Regions from separate parts of the Homo sapiens genome. Here region 1 is linked to region 2. Evidence: promoter capture Hi-C in human tissues and cell types (Jung and others, 2019). All regions are on one chromosome and are shown on one strand. Each heading gives the region's core, a stretch centred on a gene start or on the middle of the fragment in contact. The rest is flanking DNA. Distances are from core to core; before and after follow the strand shown. Region 1 overlaps ZNF232 (zinc finger protein 232). Region 2 holds the start of RNASEK-C17orf49 (RNASEK-C17orf49 readthrough).

Region 1 (2,747 bases), core at 137-2,636, 1.9 Mb before region 2:
ATCCAGATAAGACCCAAGTTGAGCTTAATCCTCAGAGCTATCTTATGAGGTAGTTTATTCTTACTCCTAATTTTATGAGTGATGAAACAGGCAAAGTCTCTCACCTAAGAGATAAGAATAGTAAGGCTGTGATGATACCAAACATTTAAGCACCTACTACTATTTACCCTTTACAGGTACTAGGTACTGTGCCCTTTATAGTCCCTCTTTCTCCTCTCCCTCCCCACAGAATCCTGCTCCTCACCACTCTTTGGGAAAGGCTGGGTCTCCTTAGGCTGGAGCTGGATGCTCAGTGCTTCCTGGGCTGCTCCCAGAGATTCCTTCTTCTCCCATGGCTCTTCCTGTGCAGGTCCATGTGCAGGGCCTGGGACCTGGAGGTGATCAGGCACCACTCAGTTTAAATTTTCTTCAAATTACTAGTGTGGTTTCTGTCCCCTGCCTGGACACTTGCAGATGTGACCCTCCTTGGACCAAAGCTTCCAAGGAGACTTTAGAGAGCCTCCTCAGAGTCAGCACAAGGGAAGAAGAGGAGCTAGAGTCTCTTTCTCATTCAGGGCTCGAGGGCAGAAAAGACAGACACAGAAACACATACTAACTGCTCTACCTGGCCCAAGAGAGGTTTGAACTTGGCACCTCCCCCTACAGCTGCCCCTCGGTCCAGCCTGAAGGTCATCAATCTGGCTCCCATAACAGACCAAATCCCCCTTCCCACCTGCGGCTCTGGTTCAAGTCCTTTCTCTAAATCCTCCAGCACAGTCACAGCCTCCTCTCCACTCTTAGGGTGATGTCCCCGCACCCAGGATTGGAGCTCCTCAGGCAGGATGGTCAAGAATTGTTCCAGCACCAGGAACTCCAGGATCTGCTCCTTCGTGTGTTTCTCTGGCCTCAGCCACTCACAGCAGAGTACTCGTAGTTGGCTCAAGGCCTCCCGGGGACCAGGAGTCTCCTGGTAGCGGAGATGCCTGAAGCGTTGGCGGAAGATCTCTTGACTGGTAGAGTGGTTCCCAGGTAGCCTGGTCTCATACTCACAAGACTGTTCCTCTTCCTTTGGTCCCATCATCATCATCTTCTCTTGTCCCTGTGTACCCTGAAGGGCCAGAGTTTCAGCTGCTGTTAGTGATACAGCCATCCTAGTCTGCACTAGCTCTGCAGAAGGCTCATACCAGCTGGAATCTTGCAAGGGCCCCCTGTAACATAAGAAGAAATCATTCCTCTTTTTTTTTTTTAAGACAGAGTCTTTCTCTGTTACCCAGGCTGGAGTGCAGTGACATGATCTCAGCTCACTGCAACCTCCACCCCCGGGGTTCTAGCGATTCTCCTACCTCAGCCTCCCAAGTAGCTGGGATTACAGGCGCCTGCCACCACATCCAGCTAATTTTTTTGTATTTTTAGTAGGGACGGGGTTTTGCCATATTGGCCAGGCTGGTCTTGAACTCCTGACCTCAGGTGACCCACCCACCTCGGCCTCCCAAAGTGGTAGGATTACAGGCATGAGCCACCGCGCCCGTCCTCCTCTTCTTTTTTCATTCATTAAACATATACATATACTCAACACTCCAAAGAGCCAAACCCTGTCCTATGCCCTGTAGTCCCGCTTTTTCTTCCACCCCTCCCCAGAATTCTGCTGCACTAAGTCAATGTTTTTGAGAAACTTGCACCGTGGTAGAAACGGGGATGTAAAGTGGTTTTCTATAATACAACTAATTAAATGCCATTGACAGGAAAAATGTATCAAGAAAAAAAAAGTTCTGGGGGCCTATGGGAAGAAATGACTATTGGAAGAAATAAGTTTGAAGCAAAACCCAAGTTTCCAGATGCAGAGCCCAGAGCCGAGCAGCTTTCAGTGCAAGGTGGAATGTGTTGGGGAGGCAGCCTCCTCTGAGATGGCTCCTCCCTGCTTTCAAAAATTTCTGAAGTAGTAGCTACAGCAAAAGAAAAATATAAGTCCCCTTTAAGGAGCTGGATCTCATTCAAATGCCAAAGCCCTATTAAGGGGCAGCTATGAACAAGTCTCGGGTACAGTGGCCTGCGTCAAGGAAATCTAACAGGTGTAAACCAAAAAAGCATCTGAGATAGGTCTCAACCAATTTAGGGGTTATTTTGCTAAGGTTGAGGATGCACCCAGGAAAAAGACACACAAGCCACAGTAGGATCCGTGGCTCGCACTTTTACCAAAGAGGGTTTTGAGGGCTTCAATTTAATGGGGAGAAAGCTGGCAGGAGGGGAAGGAGGAGAGAAGAGGGAGGGTATGTGGTGAGGTAAGTGGCCACATTCTTGTGAGGATTTGATTAGAGCTCACTGAATCCACATGTTGCACGTGAAAAGAGGAAGTCAATTATGAATTTGTCTCGTGCTCAGTAAATCTGCATTTTACACAAGATAAGGTAGACATACAGTAGAGGAAGAAGTCAAATATGCTTTGTCTCTGGGTGGGTGGAGGAACGATTTCTAGTCTTGTCCGGTGAAGCTCGGCTGTTCGTTTCCATTGCCAGGGTGAGGGAGGCCACCTGGGGGCATATGTTGCTTTCTATCTTGCAGCTATCGGTTTAGGAACAAAAGGAAAAGCAGTTTTTTTCCGTGACTCAGTTTCCAAGCTTAACTTTTCCCTTTGTCATAGTAAGTTTGGGGTCCTGAGATTTTATTTTCCTTTCACACAGGGAAGGAGGTGGAACGCATCAGAGGCCACGAAAGGAGCACAAAGGGGGACCGCTGGCCTAAGACAAAGGAGGCGCGAGGAAAAACGCGGA
Region 2 (2,700 bases), core at 110-2,609:
CCTATTCACCCATGTACCCCAAAAGTCCCTGAATAAGAATCATGTTTTTGGGGCAGAATACAAACCACTGCCCCAAAATGGCTTCTTTCTCCAAACAGTCCCAGATGAAAGGCACATAATTCATGTCTTAAGGCTACTTTTCCAGCCCCTTTAATACTCTGGGATCTATGTGTTTCCCACATTCCAAGTTATCTTTCACAAGCCTTTTAAGAACAACATGCACAAAATAAATGGACAAGAACTACAAAGTTATTCTAGCCAATGATAGTGTTTATTTGTTAGGTCCTGGGGTCTCAAGGTCAAATGATCCCTCTCAATTATTCTGAGGTCACTGTCCTCACTAGAGTGGGTACAACTTGCTCACTGCAAAACTGTGTTCTTCAAACATCCCTACTTCTTTTCTTTTCTTTTTTTTTTTTTTTTTAGAAGTAGTCTCTATCGCCCAGGCGGGAATGCAGTGGCGCCATCTCAGCTCACTGCAACCTTCGCCTCCCGGGTTCAAGGGATTATCCCGCCTCACCATCCCGAGTGGCTGGGATCACAAGCTCATGCCACCACATCCAGCTAATTTTTGTAATTTTTAGTAGAGACAGGGTTTCGCCATGTTGACCTGGCTGGTCTCGAACTCCCGACCTCAGGTGATCCGCCCGCCTCGACATTCCTATTTCTAAATAATTATTACAGATCTGTCACTCACCAGTTAAACATACAAACGGCTTTTTTGGAGGGGATGACCTATTTATATTTTTAAATCTTATATCCTACCTTATTCAAAAGTCCTATCAGTTTTCCTAGTTTAGAGAAGCAAAGTGACATTTTTGTGTACATTTAACAGGACTGCTTACCTTCACAACCTGCTCAGTCGGCTTTCCCTGGACTTCTCCTAACCGCCCATTTTTCCTGGATTTGGCACCGAGAGTTACAGTATTTCACGTGCGATGATAAAATGTTACTTAGGAGAAACAGTTCCAATACCAAGAAACTTCAGCAATTTTAAAGCATTTTAAAGCCACAAAACCATGCCCGATCCCCAAAAGGGGGTCCTAACTCCTTTACACTGTCAGAATCTCAATTTTAAAAGGGAGGAGTAGAGAAGAGATAGAAACGCTCTCTGTTGGTGAAAATCTGTCTTACTTACCATTTCCCCAACACAGGAGAGACTAAGGAATTTCAGGTAAAAATCAGATGGCTCCAATCCTCCGATACTAAGAGCCCATCGCCCCAGTTCCCAGGAGTTCCGCCAGTTAGACTTTTTCCCCCATGGCCTCGCTAAGGCTAGTTCCTCGTCACGTGACGTGACAGGCTTGGTCACGTGACATACCAGCTCCTTCCATTCCCGTGTGCGGGGGGAGGGGGACCAACAAACCGGAGGCCCTCGCTCTTCCAATACTCACGCCCTAGCTACAGAGGTCAAGGAAGGTTTCCCCAGGAGCAGTTTTGGTTTCAGACGGCGCCGTCTCCCGCGAAAGTCCTGAGAGGAGCCCAGCCTTTTCCGCCTGCCGCCCCCGGATGGGATGGTTGAGGCCGGGGCCACGCCCCCTCTGCCCCCCTGCGAGGGCATCCTGGGCTTTCTCCCACCGCTTTCCGAGCCCGCTTGCACCTCGGCGATCCCCGACTCCCTTCTTTATGGCGTCGCTCCTGTGCTGTGGGCCGAAGCTGGCCGCCTGCGGCATCGTCCTCAGCGCCTGGGGAGTGATCATGTTGGTGAGGGGACTCCCCGGCAAGGATCGGAGAGGGCCTGAGGGGCTCCGGGCTGGGAGGGCTGGGAGGCGAGGAAACTCTGGGCCGCAGGCAGGCCGGAGGGGCCGGGGATCTACAGGCCCCGGAGAAGGAGACAGACTGAAATTGAAAAATGGGAACTGTTCGAGACCAGCCTGACCAACATGGTGAAACCCCGTCTCCAATAAAAATACAAAAATTAGCCGGGCGTGGTGGCGCCCGCCTGTAATCCCAGCTACTCAGGAGGCTGAGGCAGGAGAATCGCTTGAATCCGGGAGGCGGAGGGTGCAGTGAGCCGAGATCGCGCCACTGCACTCCAGCCTGGGTGACAGAGCGAGACTCCGTCCCCAAAGAAAAAGAAAAAAGGGAACTGGAGCGGAGGGCCCTGGAGTGGGAGGAGCCAGGGCTGGTAAAGGTGGAGACCCCTCAAGGTAGGAGAAACAAGAGCGGGGTGCCTGAGAGGTGCTTGAGTTGAATGGAGGACATGGGAGGAAAAGAGAGTGCTTGTTCCAGAAATGTGTAGCTGGGCCTTGTTTTCCCAGTAATCCACCCACCGCCACTTCAAGAAGAAATGATATGAAGAAGTGCCGGTTCTCCCTCCCCTCTTCCGCACTGTCCCGTGATGATGACGCCTCCAGAGAGGACGATAATCTGGGTTCCTGGGAGAGATGGCTTGGTCACTATTCCCACCCTTGCCTCGACCACTTGTCTCAATGTCACCACCTCACGCCCTGTTCCAGGTGGCTGAGTCCGAATCCAGTAACCACCACCTCGTTTTGGTTAATCTCAGGCTCGGGTGTTGTAGCAACATTGGAAATGGGAGGGGTTTACGAAGTGAACATGAGGTCAGGTGCCTGAATTCAACAGTCTACCCATTCCCCTTTTCCAGATAATGCTCGGAATATTTTTCAATGTCCATTCCGCTGTGTTGATTGAGGACGTTCCCTTCACGGAGAAAGATTTTGAGTAAGTATTCGGGTG

What was found. Contacts are between HindIII fragments. The study calls those that stand out against the background at their distance.
Region 1: a contact is called between a fragment that was not itself captured here and the fragment with the promoter of RNASEK-C17orf49 in region 2, in 1 of the 25 tissues and cell types used here (aorta).

What each region holds. Positions count from the first base shown.
Region 1 is chr17:5,108,682-5,111,428 of GRCh38, forward strand. It overlaps ZNF232 (zinc finger protein 232), which reads right to left. Exons shown (of 4, transcript NM_014519.6): 2 at 713-1,187; 3 at 245-371. Among named protein-coding and RNA genes, the nearest start is that of ZNF232, 1.8 kb to the right of the region's middle. The HindIII fragment of the contact is 5,086 bases long and covers 1-2,747 here.
Region 2 is chr17:7,011,058-7,013,757 of GRCh38, forward strand. RNASEK-C17orf49 (RNASEK-C17orf49 readthrough) reads left to right here and starts at 1,360. Exons shown (of 8, transcript NR_037717.1): 1 at 1,360-1,700; 2 at 2,609-2,685. It overlaps RNASEK (ribonuclease K), which reads left to right and starts at 1,567. Exons shown (of 3, transcript NM_001004333.5): 1 at 1,567-1,704; 2 at 2,609-2,685. The coding sequence starts at 1,627. It overlaps ALOX12-AS1 (ALOX12 antisense RNA 1), which reads right to left and starts at 1,277. Exons shown (of 3, transcript NR_040089.1): 1 at 1,139-1,277. RefSeq lists enhancers at 928-1,548, 1,628-1,747, 1,828-2,007. The HindIII fragment of the contact is 15,519 bases long and covers 1-2,700 here.